Linked DNA regions of Homo sapiens: region 2 is linked to region 1. The links are contacts of gene promoters, found by promoter capture Hi-C in human tissues and cell types (Jung and others, 2019). All regions are on one chromosome and are shown on one strand. Each heading gives the region's core, a stretch centred on a gene start or on the middle of the fragment in contact. The rest is flanking DNA. Distances are from core to core; before and after follow the strand shown.

Region 1 (7,971 bases), core at 4,213-6,712:
GGGTGCAGCTTGTTGGGTCATTTAATCCTGCCCTTTTCTGTAGAACCTGTTCATAAAGCTTTCTTGGCTTCCCCCTTGGACGAGCCACCTGCTCCCTGCTGCCACCCTGGTTAGCCATTAGCAATGGTGGTACCAGCAGTATTTCCTCTCTGTGGACTCCTCCTCTATCTTTAAGACTCACTTCAAATGTCGCCTCTTCTTGGCCAAGTCTTTCCTTAGGCTCCCACACAAAGCTGGCCACATCTTTCTCTGTGCACACAACAGCACTTTGTCCCCAACTCTGCCATGGGACTCACCAAGCTGTGCTGAACTTTCTCCCTTTACCCTCCTGTCTCCCCACAAGCCTGTGTGTGGCCCAGACACAGGCCTGGCTTGTGAGTGTGGTGGTAGAGCCAAAGAACCCCTTCCCCAACTGGGTCTGCTCCTCTCTGTGCCTCAGTTTCCTTATCTGTAAAATGAGGACTAACATCTCTTTTTAAAATGGGATTTAATCACTATGAGAGATTAATCATTGTTTTTTAGTATTAATTTAATGAGTTAATAATTATGAAGAGTTCAGAACAGTGCCTGGCAGGTAGTAAGTCCTGTGTTTGTTACATAAAACTAAGTGACAATAAGTGGACATAAATTCTATATCCACAGCAGTGGGCAGCGAGTGGCCCTCTGTAGATGTTAGTGGGATGAATAGATCCAGCCACACTTCTTCCCAGGCCTTTAGAGTGTGCATCCCAGTGGTACCAGGCTTTATTTGACTCTCATTTTCTTATCATCCATCTTTTCTTTTTCTTTTGCTTTCTTTCTTTCTTGTCTAGGGTTCTCTCTGTCTCTGTCTCTGTCTCTCTCTCTTTCTTTTCTTTCTGTTTCTGTTTCTTTCTTTTTCTTTTTTTTTTTTTTTTTGAGACCAGGTCTTACTCTGTCACCCAAGCTGGAGTGCAGTGGTGTGACCACAGCTCACTGCAGCCTCAACCTCCAGGCTCAATTGATTCTCCTGCCTCAACCTCTCAAGTAGCTGGGACTACAGGTGCACAACACCACACCTGGCTAATTTTTGTATTTTTTGTAGAGATGGGGTCTCGCTATGTTGCCCAGGCTGGTCTCAAACTCATGGACTCAAGTGATTCTCCCACCTCAGCCTCCCAAAATGCTGGGATTTCAGGCGTGAGCCGCCACACCTGACTTCTTTTCTTTTTCTGGAACCACTTTATTGAGGTATGCCTGACATGTAAAGCGCTGTATATATTTAGTGTATACAACCTGATGAGTTTGGGGATAAATGTGCACGTGTGAAAGCATCACCACCATCAAGGACATAGACAGTGCCCTTCATCTTTTCAGAGGCTCTTGACATGTCAGCTAGTTTGTAGTATTTCACCCTGTGCCTGGCACAGCAATCACGCCCTGCTTCTCCTTGCTTTCCTTCCTCGCTTGCTGCTCCTTCTCCTCCAAAAGTTGAGGTACCCCGGGCTCTGTCCTAGGTCTCCTCTCCATCTGCACTGTCTCTCTAAGTGACCTCATTCATCTCAGGGGTTTAAATACCACTCACACCCCCAAGGACCTACCGATGCTTATCTCCAGGCCAGACCTACAGCCTTCTCAGTCACCTCTAGCAGGCGTCTCAAACTTACAGCATTCGAAGTGGAACGCTAGGTTTCCACCACCTCCTGCTCCGTCTCCACCAACCTGCTCCGTCTCCACCAAATGTGGATTCACCCTTGATGCCTCTCTTTCTACGCTCGCAGCCAATCCATCAGCAAAGCCTGTCAGTTTTTCCTTTAACATGTATCCTGAATCCGACCCATTCTCACCCGAGTCCGAGCCCCTGCCTCTGGCCTGGGCTCCTGCAGGAGCCTCCTGACTGAGGTCCCCTTCTACTCTTGGGCCCCTCAGTGGATTCTCTACAGAGCAGCCAGAACAATTCCTTTTAAATGTAAATCATTCACACTTACAAGAAAATCCTGACCTGACCATGGCCTACCAGGCCCCTACCACCCCTCCGACCCATTTCTCACCATTCTCCACTCACGATTCCTCTGGGACACACTGTCCTACTTGCTGTTCCATACAGGCGGGCATCTGCTTGCCTCAGGGCCTTCACACTTGTTGCTTCCACTTTAGGGAATGCTCTTCTACATGTATCTCTGTGGCTCCTTCTCCTCACTTCTTCTAGGTCTCTGCTCAGATGTCACCTCTTCAGAGAGGCCTTCGTGACTGCCTACCTTGTCACTTACTATCTCTCTCTCCCCATCTTAGTTTATTTTTTCATAGAATTTATCACTATCTGGCATTGTATGATACTTTTGTTGATTTCCTTTTAACTACCTGTCTTCCCTACTGGAATGTACTGTCTAAGACAGCAAGGGCTTTATTTTGTTTTTTGATGCTTAGAGTACTGCCTGGCATATATTAAGGGCTCAGTCAATATTTATTGCCTATGTGAATAAATGAATGATTAACAAATTCCTAGAGAGTGGTGGCTCTTTCTGATCTTATTCATCCCAACCGGTTGTCAGATGCCTGGCCTCAGGCAGAATACACAGCTATGCTCATAAATGCATGATTGCTGAAGAGGCAATAAATACTTTTAAGCCAATGAGTAACCAAGTTCCTACCCTGTGCTGGTGCTGCGAACAGAAGAGCAGTCTCCCTTTGAAAGCTGGTTCTCTGAGGGAGAAAACAGTCTCTGACCAAGCCCTGCTCCCCCACATCCTGGCCCAAGGTTGCTACTAGTTACTGGAAGGGTATGCAAGTGCTCCTGGCGGCCTTGGGGTAACTTCACAAATCAAAGGGAGTCGATGCCTGGAGCCTGTTGGCTCCCACTGGACACTCTGCAGGTATCAGCTGGAAACAGTGTGGTTACTGTGGGCCCAGAGCAGCCAGTACTTTAATTGCTAGTTAGTTTTGACTGTCTTGTGAGGTAAGTTCTACAAACTCCATCTCATAGCTGAAGAAACTAAAACTCAGGGAGAGTGGGTGGCTTGGTCAAGGTCTTCCTGACAGTGACAGGGCTAAGATTTGGTCCCAGTTCTGCTAACTCCAGATAATAATCAACATGGACATTTCTTGAGAGCTCCCTAAGTGCCAGGGTCTATTTAAGCTCCCCACACACATGTAGGTCTCATTCAGCATTCATGGTAACCTTATTCGTTAAATATTGTTATCTCTTTTCACAAGTAAGAGCACTGAGGCACAGAGAGATTAAGTAACTTGCTCAAGGTCACAGAGCACTTTCCATTATAACACACTACCTTAAATATTACTTCCAACAACTAAGGATTTAGATCACAAACCATTTCTTCCAAAACACTAAGGAAGGGACCCCTACAAAGCAAACAACAGCAAGCTGTAAATTTCTCCCAGCATGTCTGTGTGCCTCCTTTCTATCCTCTGTGCTTCATCCTCTCTCCCCAGTTCCTGGATGATCCCCAACCTGGGAGGGGAAGGCTGTGGCTGTCTCCAAGGCAGCAGGGCACAAAGTCCAGCCTGGGCCTTGCCTAGCGCATGGCGCCTGCCCTGCCTGCACACAGGGATATTAATAAGTAATGACTGTTGCGATGAGGAAGAGTAGGGCAGAGGAAACGTGGAGGTCTGAGGCCCTTTGGAGCCTGTGGGACCTGGGGAAGAGGAACAGGGCAAACCCAGGATCTGCATCAGACACCAGGGACCCTGGAGATGATTCTCACAAAAAAGAGAGAGCAGGTACCCCACAGAGTGAAGGCAGAAGACCTGATGTTATTTCAGGCCAGGGGCAGGAAACTGAAATTCAACCCTGAGTCTTGGGTTGGGGGATGGAAGGCTGAGCTCCTTCAAACTGGGTTGCCTGAAATCTACACTCACAAAATGTCCTTAGTGGCTGAAATTTCTTCCGACATGTCTCTTTGCAACAGGATGTAACAGTGAATGCTCTCTCAAGCTCCCCTTGGTATTCGCCAGCCCCTAAATTCCTGCTGAACTTCCAGCTATCACCCACCCCTGGGAGCAGGACCAGAAATGCCCAAGACCTTGTTTTCAGGAGCCTTCTGCCAGTTTGAGCTGTCCCTTTGTGCCCCTACAAAAGCTTGGCCTCAACACGCAGCACTCAGACATGGGTAATTACCAGGGTAGGGTCTGCCTCCCACCTACACCACCAGCAAAGGGCACAGACTGGGTATGGCTGAGAGGATGCTCAAAACATGCTTATTAAATGAATAACTGACCCCGGGCCCTTGGCCCCAAGCCCCTGTGGCCCCTACACTGGCTAGCTCCTTGGGCTCCTATGGGCCTCTTTATGGGAAGGAAGGAGTTAAGCACCCTGACCTGCCCTACCTGAGCTCAGCTCTCAAACCAGGAAGAGGTTTGGCTTGGTCTAAAGACACTGCCCCTGGGGTCTTTGGGAGAGCCTTGGGTCACACAGTTATCAATAGTTAAGTTATCAATAGTTACCTGCCCCTCAGGCAGGGCCTGTGGGGAGCTCCAGATACCACCCACCCCCCCCAAGCGGCTTCATCCCCAGACTCAGAGGCATCCTAAGACTTGGTGGGGAAGTAGGCTGGATCTCTTTGATGGCCCTCTCTGGTCTCAGGGCCTCAGCAGATTCTGCACAGCTTTGTGAATCATTCTCGAAATGCCCTGTGTGAAACCTGGCCACTTCCAGAGATGGTCCTTGAGAATCCCAGACCACCAGTGAGGCCCCTCACTGGGACACACCAGGGTGGACCCGGCTCTGCCTGAAGGATCTGGCCGGCCAGAGCCCAGCTCCGACGCCCTCAGTACCTCCTCCCTTCCTCCCCACCGCACCCGGGTCAGCACCAGCTCCTCAGCTACTTCTCAGACCCTAAGAAACGCCCTTAGGCAGGCAGGGCTGAAATGCTTCTAACTCATGTTCTGAGGTCAAAAGGCAGAGAGAGAGACGTCTAGTTTCCCTTCTCCCAACCCTCACCTCTCAGATACTGCCCCAGACTGTCTCCACATGCCTCAACAGCCCTGAGCTGGGGGCACTAGGAAGGAGAGGGGCTTGCCCACAAAGGGGGCACCTCAGAAAAGCGGCCAAGACTGGAAGGAATTCAAACCCCAGAGACGTCCCTGCCCCTGGAAGGCAGAGGGAGAAAGGCTGGCAGAAGATCGACTCGTTTAGCAGTCCTTGAGCCGGGAGTCCCCGCATTCCCTCCCTCACTTTACTGGGGATCCCTGCTGCCAGCCAGACGACCCTCGGGTGTCCCAGCCCAACCAGAGCCATCAGGTGGGGCCGGAAAAGGGAGGGGCAGTGCCGGGGTGTCCACCCCCTACCCACCGCGCCCAGGACTCCGGAGTCCCAGAAGCCTGGGGCGCCCTGCAGCTCTGACCTTATGCCGGAATTCTCGGGCCACTTTTCGGTCCATGGCTGGGCCAGGTCCAGCTGCGTCGTTGCACGACCCGTTCCTTCGGGTGCCCGGCTGCCAGGAGCTGGAAAGAGCCGCGACCGCGACCGGGCCAGCCGCCCTCGGAGCTGGGGGCGGGGCCTGAGCGCGGAGGGGCGGGGCCAGGCCTCTGTGGGGCGGGGCCGCTGCGAGGCTGGAGTCGAAGGTGCTGAGTCGTCGCCTCCCACTGAAGCCTGGGAGCAAATGGGCCCCAGTGTGCCTATGGGCCTGAGGTGGCAGTAGCTGGGCTTCAAGCTGGTATTTCTCTGGAAGTGGTACCTGAACACATGCGTTTGAGGAAGAAGATCGTGGAGACGTAGGGAGGAGGTTTGGGACTTTTTTGTGGGGACCGGAATAGAGAGATACGGAAACTATTTACACGGGCGGGGGGCGGGGCAATCTAGTCCGTTTTCTCTGGATATTCTTTTTTTTTCCCCCCCGAGACGGAGTCTCGCTCTGTCGCCCAGGCTACAGTGCAGTGGCATGATCTTGGCTCACTGCAAGCTCCGCCTCCCGGGTTCACGCCATTCTCCTGCCTCAGCCTCCCGAGTAGCTGGGACTACAGGCGCCCGCCACCACGCCCGGCTAATTTTTTTTTTTTGTATTTTTAGTAGAGACGGGGTTTCACCGTGTTCGCCAGGAAGGTCTCGATCTCCTGACCTCGTGATCTGCCCACCTCGGCCTCCCAAAGTGCTGGGATTACAGGCGCGGGCCACCGCGCCCGGCCTTCTCTGGATACTCTTGTCGAGGTTCATGGCCCTCCTGGACTGTCAGCCCTTGCTACGCCCTCACCTCCAGCGTACCTTCAGTCCTGGCTTCCTCCTGCACTTTTCCACCAGGGAGAAATCAATCCTTGTTCTGTGAATTCCTTGGGGACAGGGCTGGGTTTTACTGTGGGCCGCAGGGGTCTGAATCAGTGTGTGTGAGAGTGCCCCCCTCAACTGATTTCCCCTCCCACCTTCCCTAACACCTCCACCCCCAACAAAACAAGACAAAACAAAACCCAAACCCAACACACTCACATATCCATCGAAGCCTGGCAGAGCCTGGCAGTGACATTTTGATCTATGGCTGACCTTCACCCAGGGCCCAGACCCTCTGGTTCATTTAATTCAATTTGGTCAGCATTTGCTTAACTCCTAGGTCTAGTGCTTGGTGCAAAGACAATGATGAACCAGGCCTGGAAAGGAATGAAAGGAAAGATTCATCAAAGACAATGATGAACCAGGCCTGGAAAGAGATGAAAGGAAAGAGGGGCTAGGAGAGGGGTGATAAAAATGTGTAAATCAGAGGCTAAGTATGGGGCTTGTGCCTGAACTTAACCCAGGGAGGCACCTGAGCCCTTTGTGCCCTGTCAAGGGCAGGGGCAAGGAGATGGACAGCAGCTTACATCAGGTAACCACTTACAATTGTAACTCTGGGGCACCTAAACACCCCTCTGCGTCCCTCTCCCCAATAGCTGAAGTTTTACAAGCACACTATTTTTGTTGCCTAGTTTAAGATGTAAATCCCTCTTGGAGAAGAACCTTAAAATATGATCTGTTTTCTCACCTTAGCATTAACTATTAAGTCAGCGATAAAATGGAAAGACTTGTGGGATTTTTGAATGGTCCAGAAAAGGCCACACAAAATGCATTCCCCTCCGACTTACTTCATTGATTCTCTACATTGGAAAAGAATGTCATATGGCTGTTTATTTTGTATTTAGAATCCTGGCAGAGGTGAATGAATGTCCTTATCCAGGGGAATGCTGTTCACCTGCCACACCAATCCTTATTTTACATTGGCCATTACCCCCACAGACTCCCTCCACCTTAAAATGCCCCCTGCTTTGTTTTGAGAATAGCATTGAGACCTGGTTCTCCTCTCTCATGAATTTTTGTTTCAAGCTTCCTTGGAGACAATCAGTCTTTGCCTGTTCCTTAACCAGCATTCCTTAAGGCTCCATCCTTAGCTCTTTCCTCTTCATCTTCCTATCTGTGCCCCCAGCTTCCTCCTGTGTGAAGATAGCTGTGTTTGCTTTATTTACCACTATATGCCTAGAACAGTGCATGGCATGGAATCAATGCCAAACAAATTTGTTGAGTGAATGAATGAATGAATGAATGAATGAATGCATCTCAAATCTATACCCTTGCCTAGAAGTCTACTGGGGCCAATACCACCACGACCACCACCACCACCATCATCATCATCCTCTGTAAGACCTAGCATCTAGTTGGTGTTCCCTAAGTGATGACGAAGTGAATGATGTACAGATTCCCCAGGTGCTCAGTCCCATGTTTTTGCCATTTTAAAATTCCTCCTGGGCAGACAGTGGACCTCGTTCACACATATAAAGTTGTTTTGTCAAAGTTTGGCCTTGATGGTGGCAATAACATAGGAGTATGAAACACTTTTATTATTCAATCGTCATTTCCTGAGCTCGGGCAGGAGCTGGTGCTGGGCATTCAGAGGACTAAGGCATGATCCATTCCCTAGAGGTGCTCAAAACTGGTCATAGGATACGGATGTGGAGACCCAGGTGGAAGCTGAGGTGGGGCATGGTGAGAACATAGGCTAGGACTCTGCAGGCTCTGTTATTGACCACTGATCCCTG
Region 2 (7,971 bases), core at 3,157-5,656, 200 kb before region 1:
TCTTGTTTTTGTCAGGTTTGACAAAGATCAGATAGTTGTAGATATGCGGCATTATTTCTGAGGGCTCTGTTCTTTTCCATTGGTCTATATCTGTGTTTTGGTACCAGTACCGTGCTGTTTTGGTTACTGTAGCCTGATGCCTCCAGCTTTGTTCTTTTGGCTTAGGATTGACTTGGCAATGTGGGCTCTTTTTTGGTTCCATATGAACTTTAAAGTAGTTTTTTCCAATTCTGTGAAGAAAGGCATTGGTAGCTTGATGGGGATGGCGTTGAATCTATAAATTACCTTGGGCAGTATGGCCATTTTCACAATATTGATTCTTCCTACCCAGGAGCATGGAATGTTCTTCCATTTGTTTGTATCCTCTTTTATTTCATTGAGCAGTGGTTTGTAATTCTCGAAGAGGTCCTTCACGTCCCTTGTAAGTTGGATTCCTAGGTATTTTATTCTCTTTGAAGCAATTGTGAATGGCAGTTCACTCATGATTTGTCTCTCTGTCTGTTATTGGTGTATAAGAATGCTTGTGATTTTTGCACATTGATTTTGTATCCTGAGACTTTGCTGAAGTTGCCTATCAGCTTAAGGAGATTTTGGGCTGAGACAGTGGGGTTTTCTAGATATACAATCATGTCATCTGCAAACAGGGACAATTTGACTTCCTCTTTTCCTAATTGAATACCCTTTATTTCCTTCTCCTGCCTGATTGCCCTGGCCAGAACTTCCAACACTATGTTGAATAGGAGTGGTGAGAGAGGGCATCCCTGTCTTGTGCCAGTTTTCAAAGGGAATGCTTCCAGTTTTTGCCCATTCAGTATGATATTGGCTGTGGGTTTGTCATAGATAGCTCTTATTATTTTGAAATATGTCCCATCAATACCTAATTTATTGAGAGTTTTTAGCATGAAGTGTTGTTGAATTTTGTCAAAGGCCTTTTCTGCATCTATTGAGATAATCATGTGGTTTTTGTCGTTGGTTCTGTTTATATGCTGGATTATGTTTATTGATTTGCGTATGTTGAACCAGCCTTGCATCCCAGGGATGAAGCCCACCTTATCATGGTGGATAAGCTTTTTGATGTGCTGCTGGATTCAGTTTGCCAGTATTTTATTGAGGATTTTTGCATCGATGTTCATCAGGGATATTGGTCTAAAATTCTCTTTTTTTGTTGTGTCTCTGCCAGGCTTTGCTATCAGGATGATGCTGGGCTCATAAAATGAGTTAGGGAGGATTCCCTCTTTTTCTATTGATTGGAATAGTTTCAGAAGGAATGGTACCAGCTCCTCCTTGTACCTCTGGTAGAATTAGGCTGTGAATCCATCTGGTCCTGGACTTTTTTTGGTTGGTAAGCTATTAATTATTGCCTCAATTTCAGAGCCTGTTATTGGTCTATTCAGAGATTCAACTTCTTCTGGGTTTAGTCTTGGGAGGGTGTATGCGTTGAGGAATTTATGCATTTCTTCTAGATTTTCTAGTTTATTTGCATGGAGGTGTTCACAGTATTCTCTGATGGTAGTTTGTATTTCTGTGGGATCGGTGATGATATCCCCTTTATCATTTTTTATTGCATCTATTTGATTCTTCTCTCTTTTCTTCTTTATTTGTCTTGCTAGCGGTCTACCAATTTTGTTGATCTTTTCAAAAAACCAGCTCCTGGATTCTTTGATTTTTTGAAGGGTTTTTTGTGTATCTCTTTCAGTTCTGCTCTGATCTTAGTTATTTCTTGCCTTCTGCTAGCTTTTGAATGTGTTTGCTCTTGCTTCTCTAGTTCTTTTAATTGTGATGTTAGGGTGTCAATTTTAGATCTTTCCTGCTTTCTCTTGTGGGCATTTAGTGCTATAAATTTCCCTCTACACACTGCTTTGAATGCGTCCCAGAGATTCTGGTATGTTGTGTCTTTGTTCTTGTTGGTTTCAAAGAACATCTTTATTTCTGCCTTCATTTCGTTATGTACCCAGTAGTCATTCAGGAGCAGGTTGTTCAGTTTCCATGTAGTTGAGTGGTTTTGAGTGAGATTCTTAATCCTGAGTTCTAGTTTGATTGCACTGTGGTCTGAGAGATAGTTTGTTATAATTTCTGTTCTTTTACATTTGCTGAGGAGAGCTTTACTTCCAAGTATGTGGTCAATTTTGGAATAGGTGTGGTGTGGTGCTGAAAAAAATGTATATTCTGTTGATTTGGGGTGGAGAGTTCTGTAGATGTCTATTAGGTCTGCTTGGTGCAGAGCTGAGTTCAATTCCTGGATATCCCTGTTAACTTTCTGTCTCGTTGATCTGTCTAATGTTGACAGTGGGGTGTTAAATTCTCCCATTATTATTGTGTGGGAGTCTAAGTCTCTTTGTAGGTCTCTAAGGACTTGCTTTATGAATCTGGGTGCTCCTGTATTGGGTGCATATATATTTAGGATAGTTAGCTCTTCTTGTTGAATTGATCCCTTTATCATTATGTAATGGCCTTCTTTGTCTCTTTTGATCTTTGTTGGTTTAAAGTCTGTTTTATCAGAGACTAGGATTGCAACCCCTGCCTTTTTTTGTTTTCCATTTGCTTGGTAGATCTTCCTCCATCCCTTTATTTTGAGCCTATGTGTGTCTCTGCACATGAGATGGGTTTCCTGAATACAGCACACTGATGGGTCTTGACGCTTTATCCAATTTGCCAGTCTGTGTCTTTTAATTGATTTAATGGTGAGAGAGAAAAAAAAATTGCATCTAGTTCTCTTTGCTATCTCCCATGAATCATTGCATTTAACATGTTATTTCTGCTCAACTTTAGTTCATTTTCAATGTGCATTTTTAGTGATGTCAGAGTATGTGTCATTTAATTAAATCCCCGCCCTTGCTTTAGATTTTCTGTGCATGGGGTGTGAGGCACATATGCAGTCTGTGCCATGTTGTATTTGTTTTGTACCATGTTGTTTGGCCTATTTTGCTTCCATGCTGTCCTCCATTGTTAAGGTGATTTGGAGTTGTTTTACTTTTGAATTTTATCCTTTCTGTTCTTGGTGTGACAACTTTCTAAATATTTCCTTATTAAAGTAGTGATATATAGATGATTTCCTTTTTAAAGCATATTTACTATGTCCTTTAATGTTTTAAACAGTTTTATGGAGGTATTTATTGAAGTATTTTTATCAAACATGACTATTTAAAATCCCTATCAACTTTGTGTAGTGATTCTTTCTTGTTCTATGACACTTAGTAATATATCTTAGAATTTGCATCTTAATTTTTTTCTAACTAAATCTCAGTCCTAATCCCATATCATTTTTTATTTCTTTTGATATGTGTGTGTATTTATTCCCTTTGATGTTCATAGTATGTTTCATTGAGGTTCAAGGTTGATTTTTTGGGGAAAAGAAAAAGCACCTTTGCAGAAAAGTCAGTTTTTCTAGAGCTAGTTAGGCAGGCCCTCATTCCTGGTTTGGTTTCAATTGCAGAGAGTTCTTGTATCTCTGCAGGGGAATTTCTGACTCATGGGGTGGGTCCCTGACTCCTTACTCCTCTCTGATTGAGTGAACCAGCATCTGGGGCAAATACGTAGCAGTCAGATGCTCTGATGAATGTCCCTGTTCAGTTCTTTGACTTTTTTGTATCCTCCTTAAATAATAATGGTTTTAAAGATAAGCAGAAGCCTATCTATAGTACTTTATAGATCTCAGCAGGGATTATTCATCTTACAGTTAATACAGGAAGAAACATCTTTGATACGGAAAGACTAGGGTGTTAATTCAGCAATCTCTGGTTAGGAGAAAAGTAGCCTAGTTTATTACTTCTTCACTACTTTTGCCTGGATGACCTGAATTTTAATCAAGAAGTTCTTTCCTCTCTATATGCGCTCCCCCATTTTCCCACTTTTGTATTGACTTTCCCACTATTGTATTTCTAATGCACCTTCTTAATCACTGGAGAAAGCTTTGAGGCATGTAAGAGGTCCTAGCACCATTTTCAGTCTTAAAGTTTCATAGCCACCAGCTTTATGGGACTCTATTATCAGGCCTTTCAAACAAATTCTTCCCTTCCCTCACAATCCCAAGCTATTGATCTTTTCTCTAAGGAAGCCTTTTGTATTACTAATTAAGACTAGGTGACTATATTAAAACAGGGTTATCTTCTAAAAGATTTATATAAATGATAAAACAGAGGCTAAGTATTTTTGTAAGGACAGCAATTTGAAGTCAGTTAATGCCTAGAGTGACTGTTTCATTCTTCTGCTATGGCTCTGGTGACTTCCTGATAATTCTGTCCGAGCCCCTGTGTCCAGTTCCAGGACCTAAGAATGGAAGAGCTCTGGAGGCTGAAGGTGGAAGATGGATCCCCCTTTCAGGGACAGTGAAAGGAGGGTTAATCTTTCCTGAAGCTGTTAGTCTGGTATCTATTAGCACACATGAGAATTAGAAACCTTGCAACTTTAGAAATAGTATCTGTGTAGTAAATGCTGTCTGTGTACCAATTTGTATAGCTTTTAATAGAAATATCTTATTTTTGGATGGAAAATGTGTGTAAGCTTGTGACTAAAATAGTTCTGGATGGAAGACCATTCAGTATCTTCTGAAAAAAAAATTGTCTTCTGGAACTAAAACATGAAAAAAAAACCTATCCATTATTGCTTTTTTTTAAATAAAGAAAACCAGTGCTGTGTAATCCATATTTTACCAATATTAATTATGTCTTAGAACCATTTAAGAATGATGGTTTACATATCCTATTTTAAAGTCAAGATTTTAAAGAGCTTTTATTTGTTATTACTAATTATTGGGAGAATATTGAAAAATTTTCAATTTAAATGTTGAATTAAAAATGTAACCTTTTTGGCTGGGTGCGGTGGCTCACGCCTGTAATCCCAGTACTTTGGGAGGCCAAGGCGGGTGGATCACGAGGTCAGGTGTTAAAGACCAGCCTGGCCAAGATGGTGAAACCCCATCTCTACTAAAAATACAAAAATTAGCCGGGCGTGGTGGTGGGCGCCTGTAATCCCAGCTACTCAGGAGGCTGAGGCAGGAGAATCACTTGAGGCCGGGAGGCGGAGGTTGCAGTGAGCCGATAACGCACCACTGCACTACAGCCTGGGTGGCAGAGCGACACTCCGTCTCAAAAAAAAGAAAAGTAACCTTTTATAAATATGGGGCTGAAAACGTTATTTTTAAATTTTGGAAAAAGTTCTACTAGCTTGAAGATTACTTAGATTTATTTTTTCTTGGCTTATTTAGATATTTGGCCTATTTTTAAAACTATAAATAAATAATTGGATTTTAATTTGATAGAGAATCAGAAAAACAGAGACTTTATATAATTTTTGTTACATTTGAATTCATTTTATAAATATATGTTGTAAAAATTCTTCCAGTGCAATATTTTTTGGAAAATATTGTTCTAGTCGTTGTTTGTATAGGTTTATTTCTAATTATATTAAAAGTAAAATTAGAAAAATATGTAATATTTGTTGTAATTTTCTGGGAAAAAAGATTTGACAATGTTAATAGAATGGATTATTTGTAAAACACCAATATTAGAGAGTCATAGAGCCTGAGTAAGGGCCTTAGATACTATCTTCCAATGAAGGAACCCCTTCTCCAGCATGGCTAGTAAGTGGTTATCCACCTCCTGCTTCAAGTCTTCCAGTGATAGCATTGAAGTGGAAATCACAGTGGTTTCCAGGCTTGTCTGCATATTGGAATCACCTAAGAGATACAAAAAATACTGGTACCTGGGTCCCATCTCCAGGTGATTCTAATATGCAGACAAGTTTGGGAACCAGTGGTAAATCATGTGGAAAAGCACCTCACTCTTTTTCATCATTAGAGAATCCATAATGGAAAGGAAACCTGGCTGATGTTATGAAGAGTCTAATAAGCATTTAGATGTCATTGAGAGCATTTATAGCCACACTCCCTACCCTTCAGTGTTGTATGATAAATAAATATTTCCATTTAAATTCAAGAACCATTTAATAAGATAGCACACTGACAGAGTCCATGATGTTGGTATAGTGGAAAGTCCTGGACTGGGTGTTAGGACTTCTAGCTGCCCAACTTTAAATAATTTTAGCCTTACAAAAAATTTGCAAAAATAGTATAAAGAATTCCCATATGCCCTTCATCTAGCTTCCTCAAATATCAACATGTTATATAACTACAGTAAAAGTATTACAATCAGGAAATTAACATTGATACAATTCTATAAACTAATCTGCAAATTTTGCCAGTTATCCTACTATAAATTTTTTCTGCGCTAAGATCCAATCTGGGATCACACATTGCATTTAGTTTTGTTATGTGTTTGTTATTTTGAAAAAAAATTAAATCATTGCAACGATAGTATAATGAATTTGTGAACCCCGAAAATTTGAGACAGGTCTCAGTTAATTTAGAAAGTTTATTTTGCCAAGGTTGAGGACACAGCCATGACACAGCCTCAGAAAGTCCTGACGACATGTGCCCAAGGTGGTCGGGGCACAGCTTGGTTTTATACATTTAGAGAGACATGAGACATCAATCAATATATGTAAGAAGTACATTGGTTTGGCCTGGAAAGGCAGGACAACCTGAAGCAAAGGCAGGAAGGCTCTAAGTGCGGTGGGAGCTTCCAGGTCACAGGTGATACACAAAGGGTTACGTTCTTTTGAGTTTCCCATTTTGAGTTTCTACCTTTCCAAAGGAGGCAAGTCAGATATGCATCTATCTCCGTGAGCAGAGGAGTGACTGAATAGAAACAGGGCAACAGGAGACAGGTTTACCCTAAGCAGTTTTTCATCTTGAGTTTTCCTTAGTGATTTTGGGGACCCAAAATATTTTCCTTTCACAAATTCTAGTATACCTTGCTTTCACTCTTTCTGTCCAATTCTTTGTTTGACTGAAGCGTTTCAGAATTAAGCTGCAAACATTGTGATCCCTTACCCTAAATATGTGAGCATCTCTTATGAACAAATATTTTTTTAATCATAACCATCATATAATTATCAAATTTGGGAAATTTAACATTGTTACAATACTATTAATCTAACACATAGTCCGTATTCAAATTTCACCAACTGTCTCAATACTGTCCTTTATAATAATTTTTTCATGATCCAGGATTTGTGTGTTGGATTTTGTTGTAAGGTCTCTTTAATTTCCTTTGATCTGGAATAGCTCCTCAGTTGTATTTTGTCTTTCATGACATTTACATTTTTTGAGAGTACAGGTCATTTGTTTTATAGAATGGCTCTCAATCTGCATTTGTCTAGACTGGTCTTTCTCACAGTGTGGTCTGTGACTGGTGCTGGTCTATGCCTGGCTGTTACCTAATGGTGAGAAGGCCAACCAACATTACTCATGCTGTTGGAAACTTTTATAGCAATTCAAAAATAATTTTATGTCTTTTGAATCTAAGAATAAAAATTGAGGGCTTGGATTTTTATGTCTTTTTATTTCATTTCTCTAGTAATTCATTTTTATTTCACAAAATGACAGTTCTTCGTGGGTTGGACACTTATTTTTTATTTTTACTTTTATTTTTTAGAATTAAGAAAAAATAATAGAGACAGGATCTTGCTATGTTGGCCAGTTGGTCTTGAACTGTTGCCCTCAAGCAGTCCTCCTGCCTCTGCCTCCCAAAGTGGGTGAGCCACCATGCCTGGCCAGGTTGGACACTTTTAAAGAGTCCTTCAGCACAGCTACTTGGAACAACAATGGTCTAGAATGAGGTGTTTTTTGTTTGTTTTTGTGTTTTTTTTTTTTTTTTTTTTTTTTTTTTTTTTGGAGACAGAGTCTCACTCTGTCACCCAGGCTGGAGTGCAGTGGTGCAATCATGGCTCACTGCAGCCATGACCTCCTGGCCTTGAGCCATCCTCCCTCCCACCTCAGCCTCTCAAATAGCTGGGAATATAGGTGACACCACCACACCCAGCTAATATCTTGATTTTTTTTGTGGAGATGGGGCCTCACTATGTTGCCTAAGCTGATTCCAAACTCCTGAGCTCAAGTGATCCTCCTGTCTT

Evidence for each region. The method cuts DNA at HindIII sites, captures the fragments that hold promoters and counts their contacts. A contact is called where the count stands out against the background at its distance.
Region 2: a contact is called between a fragment that was not itself captured here and the fragment with the promoter of USH1C in region 1, in 1 of the 25 tissues and cell types used here (dorsolateral prefrontal cortex).

The regions. Positions count from the first base shown.
Region 1 is chr11:17,538,954-17,546,924 of GRCh38, forward strand. It overlaps USH1C (USH1 protein network component harmonin), which reads right to left and starts at 5,463. Exons shown (of 27, transcript NM_153676.4): 1 at 5,319-5,463. The coding sequence starts at 5,354. The HindIII fragment of the contact is 3,601 bases long and covers 2,057-5,657 here.
Region 2 is chr11:17,340,621-17,348,591 of GRCh38, forward strand. LOC124902640 (a long non-coding RNA gene) reads left to right here. Exons shown (of 2, transcript XR_007062608.1): 2 at 1,181-5,425. It also overlaps a transcript of NUCB2 not described here. Among named protein-coding and RNA genes, the nearest start is that of NCR3LG1, 7.2 kb to the right of the region's middle. The HindIII fragment of the contact is 3,839 bases long and covers 2,488-6,326 here.